Regions from separate parts of the Homo sapiens genome. Here regions 1 and 2 are each linked to region 3. The links are contacts of gene promoters, found by promoter capture Hi-C in blood cells and fetal thymus (Javierre and others, 2016). All regions are on one chromosome and are shown on one strand. Each heading gives the region's core, a stretch centred on a gene start or on the middle of the fragment in contact. The rest is flanking DNA. Distances are from core to core; before and after follow the strand shown. Region 1 holds the start of LOC100130298 (hCG1816373-like). Region 2 has its middle 300 kb from the start of CLVS1. Region 3 holds the start of CHD7 (chromodomain helicase DNA binding protein 7).

Region 1 (4,814 bases), core at 1,960-4,459, 290 kb after region 3:
GAACACAAATCTTTAGCAAGACTGTTGAATGAACATGTAAGAAATAGGACAGTATTTATAGCATGGTGTCATTTTAATAATGTTAACAGAAGCATACACATACACACAATATTGTATTTTTACGTTTCCAGGCACAAATTTCTTATACATGACATTGGGTGGAGAGAGAGGAAGGAGACATGCCATGGGGATCAAGGTTAGAGGGAAAAAATTCAAATAAAATTAAAGAATAGAGGGGGTTTAAAATGCCCAGTTATGATAATTAACATGCCATGAACTGAAGAAACAACTCAGTTTTGCACTAAATTCCTATCTATGGAAATGGAAATTCTCTTTGTCTCTTTCTCATCTATCTACATATCTATAACATACCATAGTTTCTGTGATAAAAAGTATCACAGAAATGCATAAATGCATATGAAATCTCACTGTCAATAATCAACCATCAAATACTCTTTAAACCTATACTATGGATGTAGTCCTGCGCTAGGTCTGATGGAACATGCAAGAGCATAGGGTATTGTCCTTGTTACCATGCAGATTGGAACTTACATATGAAACAAGAGCATGCAATTTAAAATAGCATATAATGAATGCCCAAACTGTGTAAGACATACACAAAGAGGTGCATGAGAATTAAAAACAAAGATGGCTGGTGAGGACAGGAGTGGTCAGAGAAAACTCACTGGAGAAAGAAGCTCTGCACTGGGCGGTGAAGGATGGTGGTACTGGCTTGGCAGAGGGAAGGGGAACGGAAGCCGCATAGAGACATAAATCGTGAAGCTACCAAGGGGACCACGAGTGCAGTAGCCAGACCCCAGCAGAAGGGGACGGCTTGAGGTGTGGGTGAAGCAGGGTGCAGTGCATACTTACCCTGTCGTCTGCGCAGCATTCAGCTTCTGGGAACCATGTGTGGCTGCCTCTGGCTCCTTTATCTCCAGGGCTTCTCGGAAGCCATTTGTACAGACGTTTTCAGGCCTCTCCTGCCCACTGCTCAGGGTGTGGGTGCTGAGGGTGGGATTTGGGATTTGGCCAGGAGGAAGCATCTGCCACCACCGGCATCCCTTTTGCTTTCTTTTTCCTCTTATGAGTACTCAGGGCTGCCTCCTAGCTTTGCCTAATTGCTCTATCCACGGACCAATGAGAGCGGGTGACGTTTTAAAGTGACAATCCTACATTGATAGTATTTTCTAGAAAATTCTCCACACACCCGTGGACTAATCTTCCAGAGATCATTTAATTTAATTTATTTATTTAGAGACAGGGTCTTGTTCTGTCGCCCAGGCTGGAGTGCAGTGGTGTGATCTCTGCTTACTGCAGCATCAAATTCTCGGGCCCAAGCGATTCTCCCACCTCAGTCCCCCAAGTCGCTGGGACCACAGGCCTGCCCCTGGCGAATTGTTACGTATTTTTTTGTGGGATGGTGTCTCACTATGTTGCTCAGGCTGGTCTCAAACTCCTGGGGTCAAGTGACCTCCCACCTTGACCTCCCAAATTGCGGGGCTGATAGGTGTGACCCACTGTGCAAGGCCGGGCGCAGTGGCTCACGCCCGTAATCGCAGCACTTTGGGAGGCCGAGGCCGAGGCCGGCGGATCACCTGAGGTCGGGAGTTCGAGACCAGCCTGACCAACATGGTGAAACCCTGTCTCTACTAAAATACAAAAAATTAGCTTGGCATGGTGGTGTGCGCCTGTAGTCCCAGCTACTAGGGAGGCTGAGGCAGGAGAATCGCTTGAACCCGGGAGGCAGAGGTTGCAGTGAGCTGACATTGCCCCACTGCACTCCAGCCTGGCCACAGAACAAGACTCCGTTTCAAAAAAAAAAAAAAAATCAAATTTATAACCTGTATGAGTTTAATCAATATTATTAACAATAACTAATATTGTTATGTTTGTTAGGAAAACTGGGGCTGGTATGGTGGTGCACACCTATAATCCCAGCACTTTGGGAGGCTGAGGTGGGCAGATCACTTGAGGCCAGGGGTTCGAGACCAGCCTGGGCAACATGGCAAAACCCCATCTCTACAAAAAATACAAAAATTAGCTGAGTGTGGGGGCATGTGCCTGTAGTCCCAGCTACTTGGGAGGCTGAGGTGGGAGAATCACTTGAGCCTGGCAGGTTAAGGCTGCAGTGAGCTGCAGTCATGCCACTGCACTCCAGCCTAGGTAATAGGACAAGACCCTGTTTCAAAAAAAATAAATAAATAAAATAAAAAAAAATAAAAGAAAAAGAAAACTAGGAGGCCAGGCATGGTGCTATGGATGTTCACAAAGGGGGTCCTAATGCATGTGTTCTGAACAAACATGTATATTACATACAAGCCATGTTCACCTTGTGGTGGAGACAACAATGAAGTGTATCACAATCAAGCTCTATACGTCAAAAGGTGAAGCAGGGACACCAAGGCACTCAGTGTACAGCCTCTGTAATCCAGCCAGAACCAGTCTATAGTCAGTGGTCTCTTATCAGGAGAAAGTTACTGAAATAAGGCTCTTGTCCAATCAAAGCTGTAGTTATGGCTGTGGAACAGGGGTTGGGGGTTAGTCAGGCAGTGTCTGGTGGCTGGTGAGCTGCAGTTGTTTCAATATTGCTTATCTCAGGGCCACTGCTTGTTTGGCTGCCAGAGAAAAATAAAAACCCTGTAGCCCTTAGGACATAGTATACTCTTTAAGTGTAGGGGTGCATGACTTAACCCTTGCCTAGCATAGCCTTAGGTTCTGTTTCCAATTCGGTATCTTACTGCCACAAAGCGTCTGTTATGTCAGCCTTACGATCTCTGTTTTAATATTAATGCTTGTCAGTGGTTGTGTCTAAACCGTAAAAGAAAGGGGTTATACGTGTTTGACGTCCTATCCCATCATGGCCAGGAACTCAGTTTTTAAGGTTTCTCTGGGATCCCCTTGGCCAAGAGGGGGTCAGTTCAGTCAGTTGGCAGGGGCGGGGGCTGTTAGGATTTTATTTTTAGTTCTTATTGGTTTTATGTTGACATATTTTGGATATATTGAATTAAATATAACACACAGTCAGCCCTCCCTGTCCATGGATTCAGCATCCATGAATTAACCAACCTAGGATCAAAAATATTCAAGAAAAAAATTAAAAATAAAACAAATAAAAAAGCAATACAGTATAACAACTATCTATAGAGCCTTTACATTGCATTAGATATTATAAGTAATCTAGAGATGATTTAAAATATACAACAGGATGTGCATGGGTTCTATGCAATTACTATACCATTTTATATAAGGGGCTTGAGCTTTCATGGATATTGGTATTTGAGGGGGTCCTGGAACCCGATATATCAAAGTCGCCTCCCCCGATACGTCAAGGAGCAACTGTATTATTAAAATGAATTTGAGTTCTTTTAAAAAATGTGATTATAAAACATTTAAAATTACACATGGAGCTCACATTCTGGTTCTGCTGGGGAGGGCTGCTCTGGATTAAAGTTGTTCTTGGCTTATTTATTTGGTTTTCCATGCACTTTTCAACTCTGATTCTATGCCTGTGATCTGGATCTTCTCTTGAGATGCGGATTCACATCCGCCATTCTGTCTCCTCATCTTCTGAGAGGTCTGCCCTGGAGCCCTCTGCTGAGCTCTCCTCAGGACCGGCTGCTGGTCATCCTGAGATCCCTCTTCACTAATGTCCTGGGAATTTCCTTTATTGTTCTACTGTGTTGAAGCCTGTTTCCTGGATCTCATTTCTTCCTCCTTGGTTAATTCCTTTGTTTTATGAAACATGTTCTGCAGTTTCCTAAGAAAAGCGTGTGGGAGGTTAATTTTTTGCAACCTTATGTGTCTGAAAATTTGTGTGAAAATCACGTGCCCTTGATGCACAGTTTGGGTAGGTGAGTCCAGGATGCAAATAATTTCTCTGAATTTGGAAGGCATTGCACCCATGTCTTCTATCTCCCTGTATTGCTGTTGAGAAGTTCTAAGTCATTTGACTTCTTAACCTCTGTACATGACCTTTCCTTTGAAATCTCCATTCCCTCTTGCAGAATCTTCTTTTTCTCACCAATGCTGTGAACTTTCATGATGATGTGACTTGGTATATGTCATGCCATTCAATTCTGGGAAATTTCCTTGAATTATTTTATTGGTGATTTCATCCCCTCTATTTCTTTAGTTCTCTCTCTTTGGAACTCTATTATTTGGATGAAACAGATAATTGTTAGTCTGCACTGGTCTTCTAATTTTTTTATCTTTTCTCTTTTATTTTCCATCTCAGTCCTTTGCTCCTCTTTCTAAAACGTTTCCTCAACTTATCTTCCATCTCTTCAGCTGAGTTATTTATTTATATTATTATATTTTAAATGTCTAACAATCTAGCAACTTTTTTTTTTTGTTCTTTGATGACTTTTCCTTTTTTTTTTTTTTTTTTTTTTGAGACAGAGTCTGACTCTGTCACCCATGCTGGAGTGCAGGTGGCACAATCACAGCTCACTGCAACCTCGACCTCCTTAGCTCAGGTGATCCTCCCACCTCAGCCTTGCGAGTAGCTGGGACTACATGCGCCCACCACCACACCCAGCTAATTTTTCTGTATTTTTTGTAGCGATAGGGTTTCGCCATGTTGCCCAGGCTGGCCTGGAGCTCCTGGGCTCAAGCCATCCTCCTGCCTTGGCCTTCCGAAGTGCTGGGATTACAGATGAGAGCCACTGTGCCCGGCCTACTTTTCCTTTTTAATAGCATCCTGCTCTTCTTTGTTTTGTGGGTGCAGTATCTTCCACATCTTTGTCCCCAAGGACAGTAATGCTCACTTTGATTTTAACTTTTCTCTTGCCTGCATAGTGTCTGTTTCTTCC
Region 2 (4,349 bases), core at 1,677-4,176, 310 kb after region 3:
CAGACATTATGGAACACATTCATCTCAGTTTGATAGGGACCATCCTGAATACCCAGCAATGTGTGCAGTCATAAAGGTTATCCAACTGCTGTAAGTAACTTGGAAGACGATTGTAGATGCAAAGGTTATGAAAACCTCTTCCTAGATAAGGATGGACAGCTGTCACAGGGGCAGGCCAGTGTGCAGATAGACTTGCCACTTTGTTTCTACTAGAATGTTAAACTTTGAAAAGATTCTAAATTTCAGCCACAAGCCCATTTTCTCTAATTAACAAAACCTTGAGTAGTTATCTCCAAGGAAGAAGAAAGGAAAACAAAGTGAAGAATCTTGAACTTATTTTTGCTGATCGGATGGCTGTTTCTATGGAAACAGAAACAGAGGCAGGAACCAGCCATGAACAGCCAGGGTCAGAGGCCTGGCTTGTGTCAGCTTCTCCCACTCTCTATATTCCCGAATTCCATACTCTTTGACTTTTGGAGTTTATGACCTCAGTGGGGACCATTTGCAAAGCAAAGAGCTTCACATAACTTAAGAACTTAGGAGTTTTCTCTCAAACAAAAAGCTCGCAGGAATTGAGCCAACTCTGGAACTGCGGAAGATTAGAATTTATGTAACCTTCTGATTTCTTTAACTACCTGAAGCGTTCCAAATTTGTTGTTAACATGGTAAACATTACTCCCAACATTTATGTATATGCTTGCTAAGGTGCTATTTTTCATGCACTCACTAAAGGGCACTGAAAGGAACTGCTTATCCTCCATCAATTATATCCTGCCATAAGCTTATGGGTAACATCGTACTGGGCATTAGAATGAGAACAGGTGGGTAATTGCAGATTGAATTTGAAACAATATAGTAGTATCATTCCTCAAACTGAATAAGAGGCATGACTTGATATTTCTTTGAGACTAGAAAGGCTTATGTGTCATTGTACTCATCATTGCTGTTGAGTTCACTGTAGTTTAACCTATTCATTTGCTCATGCATTCATTCAGTAAGCTGCCATTGAGTAGCCACTGTGTGCTAGGTATCAGATTCTGGGAGTTCAGACAGAAGACACAGTCCCTGCTCTCAGGCAAATGACAGTCCAGAGGCATTTCTAAGACAAAGCAGATGATTACAATGGAACGTGATGAGCGCTGTGATAGGGAGATGCCCAGGGTACTGGAGGAGCCGGGAGGGGAGCCACATACCCAGCTTTGTGTGTGTGCATGCTCATGTGTCTGGAAGTGCATAGTTAAGAGTGGCTTCCTGATGGAAATGATGTCTAAAATAAATCTTGAAGGATAAATAGAAGCTAGAAAATGAAATGGAAATGGGTTACATTGCAGACAATAGCAAATGACATCCCAAGAACTACCAGTCACTCTGTGAGAGCTACGGTTACTTGAGTTGTGATGGTTGAGTCTGGAGAGATTGGCAGTGCTCTTGAGTTTTATGCTAAGTTGCCTGTTTGTTGGAGGAAGGAAGGAAGGAAAGAAGGAATGATAGCAGGGAGTCACTGAAGAATAGGAAAGGATCTAAGATTTACTTTCTGCTTGGGCCTGCTGATTTAAAAAAATAAATGATATCTTTCAATAGTTAACCTCTGAACCTCCATTTCCTCATTTATGAAAAAAATGTATCCTTACTTTACAGGGATGTTATGAGGGTTAAATGAGATACTGATATCAGGCACTGAGCACAGTTCCTGACACTTCATTCATGCCCAGTAACAATGGTCATCATTATCATGATAAGCATGGAGGAAAGAGGATGTAATAAAAGTGCCAATGAGAGCCAGTGTGGTGGCTCGAGCCTGTAGTCCCAGCTACTCAGAGGCTGAGGCAGGAGGATTGCTTGAGCCAGGAGTTCAAGACTACAGTGAACCATGATCATGCCCTCCAGCCTGGTGATAGAGCAAGACCAAATCTCTTAAAAAAACTTAACAAATAATAAAAGTGCTAGTGAGAGATGAAGGTAGTCTGAAATGGGGTGGGGAGTGAGCCAGGAATCTGAGAGACATCTGGGAAGGTAGGATTTGCAGGGCTGGTGAATGGCAGATGTGAGGGAGAGGAGAGCCAAGAATGACTTCTGATTCCTGTTTGAGTGTGTGGCTGTCCCCTCACTGAGATGGATGCAGAGTGAGCAGAGAATGTTCACTAAGAGAAAGACCATCCAACACCAAAACCCAACTCCATTCTTGAACTGGAGAGCTTTTCAAAAAAGGACCCTGTAGAGACTGGGGGGTGCAGAGACATCTCCATGCGAGTGGTTGGGGGAGAAGTTAGTAGCAACCCAGATGACCTCTCCTCAATGCTGAGAAGAGGAGGTGCAGGTAGTCTTCCCAGTCTTCCCACCTGCCAGATACTGGTGCCTGGGACAGCTTCTCTCCAGCTCCCAGACAACCTGTAAGAATCAAGCTGCTCCCGTGGGCCCGGGTTCCTCATTAGGACATATGACCTGTGATGCCGGTGACCTTTGATATTCCCTGCACACCAGAACCAGAGTCATTCTATGTAAAACAGCTGCTGAAAAAAAAAAGAGTTATGAATTCTACTTCTTAATGTGCTAGCCAGAGCAATAAAATTTATTCTCAATACTAATTCTGTAATTTAAATTTATTATCTTTGTGCTTTACAGTATCCATAGCAGTAAAATCTATTCCCAAGAGTATGATTACAATTTCCAACTACTTAAGAAGGAATTTTTTTTTGTTTATGTTTTAAAGCCACAGCAATAAAATTTAACACCAACAATACTACTACAACTTTGTATGCCTTAAAACTTGCCATAAATGATAATTGTGAAAAGAATGTAGGGAAACATGTAAATGTTTTTTCCAGGAGAAAGTAGCTTTTTTGGTTTGTCTTATAGAGGTTCAGATTCTTTTTTGCAACAGAGTCTTGCTCTGTCATCCAGGCTGGAGTGCAGTGGCATGATCAAAGTTCACCACAGCCTTGATCTCCCAGCCTCAAATGATCCTCCTGCTTCAGCCTCCCAAGTAGGTGAGACTACAGGTGTGGGCCACCATGCCAGCTAATTACAAACAATTTTTTTTTAGTAGAGATGGGGGTCTCCCTATGTTGCCCAGGCTGGCCTTGCCTGAGCTCAAATGATCCTCCTGCTTTGGCCTCCCAAAGTGTTGGGATTACAGGCGTGAGCCACTGCCCTAGCCCCAGATTCTTTTTTTTTGTTTTCTTTTGTTTTGAGATGGAATTTTGCTCTTGTTGCCCAGGCTGGAGTGCAATGGCGTGATCTCGGCTCACTGCAATCTCCACCTCCCGGGTTCAAGCGATTCTCCTGCCTCAGCCTCCCAAGTAGCTGGGATTGCAGGCATGTGCCACCATGCCCAGCTAATTTTTTATATTTAGTAGAGATGGAGTTTCACCATGTTAGTCAGGCTGGTCTTGAATTCCTGACAGGCGATCCACCCACCTCGGCCTCCCAAAGTGCAGATTCTTAACAGAGCATTGGAAACACACTCCTTTCCACTTAGTCCACAAGTGTTGTTGATTCCACCTCCTAAACATTTCTTGAATTGGCCCATTTCTTTGTCTACGTGACCCCTGAAGCTATGTGCTATTGCTCTAGTCTGGGGGCTACTATCTTGTGCCAGGGCAAGTAATGTGGGCGTTTCAATGTCCACTATCCCACTGTATAATCAAATCTCCACAAAGCGGCTAAGAAAAAATTTTCAAAACAAATCTTGCCAGTTTTCAGGAAAACCTGGGCAATAGAAAACAAGTTATATGATACTGCAAGAAAGCAGTCAACTAAGTGCAGAATGTGGACAGTGTTCAGGACAGATGACTTGGTTTCTCTACTAAATCTATGGCATAAAAGAGGCAGAGGAGGCTGGGTGCGGTGACTCATGCCTGTAATACCAGCACTTTGGGAGGCCGAGGCGGGCGGATCATGAGGTCAGGAGATCGAGACCATCCTGGCTAACACGGTGAAACCCCATCTTTACTAAAAATACAAAAAATTAGCCTGGTGTGTTGGCAGGCACCTGTAGTCCCAGCTACTATGGAGGCTGAGGCAGGAGAATCGCTTGAACCCAGGAGGTGGAGGTTGCAGTGAGCCGAGATCGCGTCACTGCTCTCCAGCCTGGGTGACAGAGCAAGACTCCATCTCCAAAAAAAAAAAAAAAAAAAAAAAAAAAGCAGGAGGAGGAAACGATGGAATGAGAGAGAACTAAGAACTATGAACACAATGTTCAGGTATCATCGGTGGATTTGTGTGGCTCCTGCTAATTCCAACAAGCTAACTGTGTAAAGACAGTTTTGCCAAAATCAGGGAGGTCTGATTATGGTCTGGACAATAGATGCTGCTAAAGAACTGCTGTTAATTTTGATGGCACACGTTTA
Region 3 (4,351 bases), core at 1,583-4,082:
CAGCATTAAGTCTGAGCTCTTCAAATAGACTGTATCTATTCATGACCTAGGGCCTAGACAACCTTTTTGTAGTGGGTCATATTTTCTTTGGTGTTTTTCTCAACTGCTTTCTGCTTGGCCCGCTCCATTCTTCAATGCCCTCCTTCCCAGGTCCTTAGTACCTTTCCACTGTCCTCTGGCTACACGGAACTCAGGTCTGTCCTATTCCTCCAGGGCTCAGACTCCAAAATTAACATTCTCCCTTATCACCAGATCAAAACTACCAATCCACTAGATTGTAAACTCCATGAGGGCAGGACGTTTTGTCTGTTTTGTTCACTACTATATCTCCAGTACCTAGAACCAATCCTGGAAACTCTTAGGCACTCGAAGTTGAATGAATGGCTAAGTCTCTAAATTTGTTACTCTGGCTAGCTGTTGGGAGGAAAGCAACCCATTGAACCAATTTACACTCATCTGTGAAAGACCAGTAGCCCCTTATCTCACCCTAAGGTATTTGCATACTTAAAGAGAAAGCTTGTGAATTCAAATTACTCTCATTGGGAAAACTTCAATAGTGAAGCAAATGGAGAAAAAACATTTCAGGCTAAAGGGGAGTGTTGGGGGATGGTGGTGGTGTGGTGAGAGCTATGACTCAGGTAGGCCAGATCTGCCTAGGAGTTTGCCCCTGAGGGCCTCTACTTTTTAAGGCCCCTTACGTTCCACACCACCACAACATCTAAAAGCTTAGAGACTTCTTCATGATGGCTCAGGGCAGTGATCAGGATAAGGAGACTATAAGTCAGAGGACTTATATTCTGTAGGACTGTTTTTACATTGGGTACTGGTATATATCAAAAGGAAGTTTCCTAGCTTTCGAGTTAAATGTACAAGAGCACAGGGAATCTCCTCATAGTCATATTTGTTGATAACAAGTTAATTGCAATATTGTAATTTCACTATATGTAGATGTCATTTTTTTTCTCCTGTGAATTGCCTTGAAATAGATGCACATCTGATATCGAGCTGTGGCACACTGTAAAAGATAAGACATAATTTTTTATGGCACATTATTTTAAAAATGTGTTCTAATATAGTCAGGTACTAGCGATTTTTTTTCTAGACATTGTGTCCTGTTTTTGACCCCCCCGCCCCACACACCCCTAAAGCACCTTTCATATACTTTCATTGGGAAATATAAACTTAATGGAAACAGTAGCCTAACCTCAGAGTTGTGATTCTTGGTTTGTGATACCGGGTTTAAAACAGATGGAAGTTGATTTTAGTGGTTTCAACTTTTTAAATGCCAGAATTCTTTCTGTACTGTCTTCTATGTTCTTTTTGATGATCTGTAAGCTCCTTAAACATTAAAACATTTATTTCTTTTAGAACAAAACTCAAATACATGATGAAAGCAAGCTAAAAGCAGTGCATTTAACAAACCACAATATAATGTGATATATTTATAGAATTATTACTAAAATCAGAAAATCAATGTCTTAGTGATTAAGTCTAGGATAATCAAACTTATTGAATAGTTGCAGTAGTTACTTAATGAGATAGTTTTGATTAATCTTTTGTCCAAATAACAATATTGTGATTACAGGCTTAGCACTACAGGTAGTGTAACCATCAGTGAGTGAGATTAGTACATTTTACATAGTTTTGCTATTTTCTCAGTTTATTTTGGAGTCCAGTAATAACCAGTCAGTCTGTACCTGCCATAGGGCAATCTTTGGTTGATATGAGTTCCTTTCCTGATTTTAAAATAAGTGCAATCTTTAACCTAATAAAATTATCTTAAAGTTTACAATTGATGGTTTAAACACATTATAATTGCTCCGTATTTTGCAGATAGAAGAGGCTTAATCCATGTTTGTAGATCTATTTCCTAAAATAAAAATTAGTAAAAAAAAGTTTTTTTTCTTCAGGTTTAACATTCATTTTGTACCGGGAAGAGAAATGGAATAAGAGGCTCGGATTTTTAAGACTATGCAATCAGATACAAGTGCCATTTTGGCCAAAGAATGAGTAAAACATTCTAGTCCCGACACGTTTAATAATGGGCATACATCCTATTTCTTTGTTTCATAATCATTGAGCTCTCTGCCTTCTCTCTCTTTTTTGGTATGGTAACAAATTCGACAAAATCAATGCCATCTAGTTAAACTTTTTGATTAAGTAGTGGATCCGGTGTCCTATCCACGAAGAGGTGGGAAAAGCGATGTGGAGAAGCAGGCACGAACCCATCTGGAATGGAACATGTCCCTTCCGAATAATTTCATGTGGGAAAATAATTTCAAGTTGAAGGATAATTACTGCAGAGACTGCCAGTCACCCCCGGCCGCCGCCGGCCGCGCAGCGTCGGAAACCCTTCGCGGCAGCCAGGAGGGTCGCAGCCCTCCCGGAGCCCCGCTTCCTGCCCCGGGGCGGCGCACCCGGCTCCGGGAAGGTGCCGCGCGGGAGACGTGGCAGCAGCCCCTCCAGTCCGCGCCCGGGCGCAGCGGCCGAGCGCTCCGTGCAGCCGGGCAAGGAAGACTCCGCGGCAGCAGCGCACCGGCCGGCGGGGAGACCCGCCTGAAGCGCCGGCGCCCGCCAGGGGACGGGAAGTGGCGCCCGGCCCGCCCTTGCGGCCCGCGGCCCGCGGCCCAGCAGCTCCGCGCCGCCCCTTTTCTCTCGGCCTCTCCCTCGGCCTCCGCCACCCCGGCCGAATTCTTGCATAAATTATGCCAGGCGCGCCTGACGTCAGGTGGCGGCGCGCGGGCGCGGGCGCGGGCGCGGCGCGGCCCGGAGGGAGCTGGCGGCGGGCGCGCGCGGCCCCGCGGCTTCGGGTGCGCGCGGCGTGCCGGACGCGCGCAGGCGCTGGCGTGCTGGGGCCGCGGCGGCGGCGGCGGCGGCGGCGGCAGCGGCGGCGGCGGCGGCGGCGCGGGGGTTGAGTCGTGGTGGTGCGGACGCGCTCGTGCTCGGGAACTATCGGATTAAACTTGAATCGAGTGAAATTACACAAAGGAGCGCCGCGGAGGAGGCGGCCCGGGGACCCGGACACCCTGAAACTCACCAGAGACCCGTTCGCCCCCGGCCAACTCCGTGCCCGTGGATTCAGCCCCCTGGCCGCAGCTGCCGAGCCAACTCCGGAGCCCGCTCTGCGTTTTGTTTTCCCCTCGGCACTAGGCAGCGGAGGAGCCCGACCGACCCGGTGAGCGCGAGAGTTCGCCCGGCGCCCCCGGGAGGGGCGGCGGCGGCGGCGGCGGCAGGAAATCGCTCCGGGCCGGGGCCGGGGCCGCGCTAGGAGTTGGGAGCGAGGAGTTGGGCGTGTGCGGGGCGAGGGGCGAGGGGCGAGGGCGGGAGGGGGCCGGGGCCAGCGCAGGAGCGCAGCGCCGCCCGCGTAGTGTCGCCGGCGTCGCCGCCCGCGGGGCCCGAACCCGCGCCCCGAGCGCCGCCCGGCGCCCCAACTTTTGCCTGCGTCCGCCGGGCCGGCGGCGGCGGGGGCGCGCGGTGCGGCCGAGGGTCACTTCCTCGCATGTAAATGGCTTTTTGTTGTGCTGCCGGCGTGGGGGGGGGGTACGGGGGACAGGAGGGAGCGTGTCTGCGCGCGGGGGAGCGCGAGCGCGTTTCCTCCCGCCGGCGCCGAGCACGAGTTGCCGGCTCCATTCGAGAGAAAAAGGAAGGAGGAAAAGTTGGGCTCCAACTCAAGTGCGAGCGGGCGATGGGCGCGCGGGCGCGGGGCGGCTGAGCAGCGGCGGCGGCGGCTCGGGGACGGCGGCGACCCCCGCCTCCCGCCCCCGCCCCCCGCTCCGGACCGACCACGCCGCGCTCGCCGGGAGCTGCGGCCGCACCGGCGCGAACAAAGTGCGTTCCTCCCGGCGCGGCGGCGCCAGCCCGCGCGGGGACCGCCACCGAGCGAGGTGGGTCGGCGGCGGGGAAAGTGCGCGGGGCGCCGCGTGGGGCGGGGGCAGCGCGAACACGCGGCGCGGGAGGCGTCCCGAGCTCAGCCAGTGCCGGTCGCGGGCGCGGAGTTGCGAGCCCGGAGTTGGGGGCTCCTGGGGCTCCCCGGCGGCTCCCAAGTGCGCTAGGAGGAGAAGAAAGGGAGCGGGGCCGGGGCGAGCGCCGGGAGGCGCGGCGAGGAGGGGACCCCACCTTGTCGAGCTGGCCGGGCCGCCGGCGGCGGCAGCTGCATAATAGCGACTTTAACCTTCCAACGCAACTCGGCTCCCCCGCCCCCCAACCCGCCGGGGGTCAGCGCCGGTGGGGGGTGGTCACCAGGTGGCCCCCGAGGTGACCCGGGTGCGCTCTGCCCTCGCAGAGAGCCGCGGCTTGGAGCGTGAACGGCCGAGGTGGCTGGAGGCCAAGCGGTCAGCGGGGAGAGGAAAGG

The links. The method cuts DNA at HindIII sites, captures the fragments that hold promoters and counts their contacts. A CHiCAGO score of 5 or more calls a contact.
Region 1: a fragment that was not itself captured here is called in contact with the fragment with the promoter of CHD7 in region 3 in 10 of 17 cell types (naive CD8 T cells, neutrophils, naive CD4 T cells and 7 more); the score reaches 15.2 in naive CD8 T cells.
Region 2: a contact is called between a fragment that was not itself captured here and the fragment with the promoter of CHD7 in region 3, in 12 of 17 cell types (naive CD8 T cells, activated CD4 T cells, non-activated CD4 T cells and 9 more). The highest score is 23.0, in naive CD8 T cells.

What each region holds. Positions count from the first base shown.
Region 1 is chr8:60,966,700-60,971,513 of GRCh38, forward strand. LOC100130298 (hCG1816373-like) reads right to left here and starts at 1,049. Exons shown (of 2, transcript NR_034003.1): 1 at 874-1,049. It also overlaps a transcript of CLVS1 not described here. RefSeq lists enhancers at 571-620, 681-740. The HindIII fragment of the contact is 7,322 bases long and covers 1-4,814 here.
Region 2 is chr8:60,986,009-60,990,357 of GRCh38, forward strand. It overlaps a transcript of CLVS1 not described here. Among named protein-coding and RNA genes, the nearest start is that of CLVS1, 300 kb to the right of the region's middle. The HindIII fragment of the contact is 4,294 bases long and covers 780-4,349 here.
Region 3 is chr8:60,675,908-60,680,258 of GRCh38, forward strand. CHD7 (chromodomain helicase DNA binding protein 7) reads left to right here and starts at 2,833. Exons shown (of 38, transcript NM_017780.4): 1 at 2,833-3,175. RefSeq lists silencers at 2,381-2,820, 3,181-3,280, 3,941-4,310. The HindIII fragment of the contact is 9,178 bases long and covers 724-4,351 here.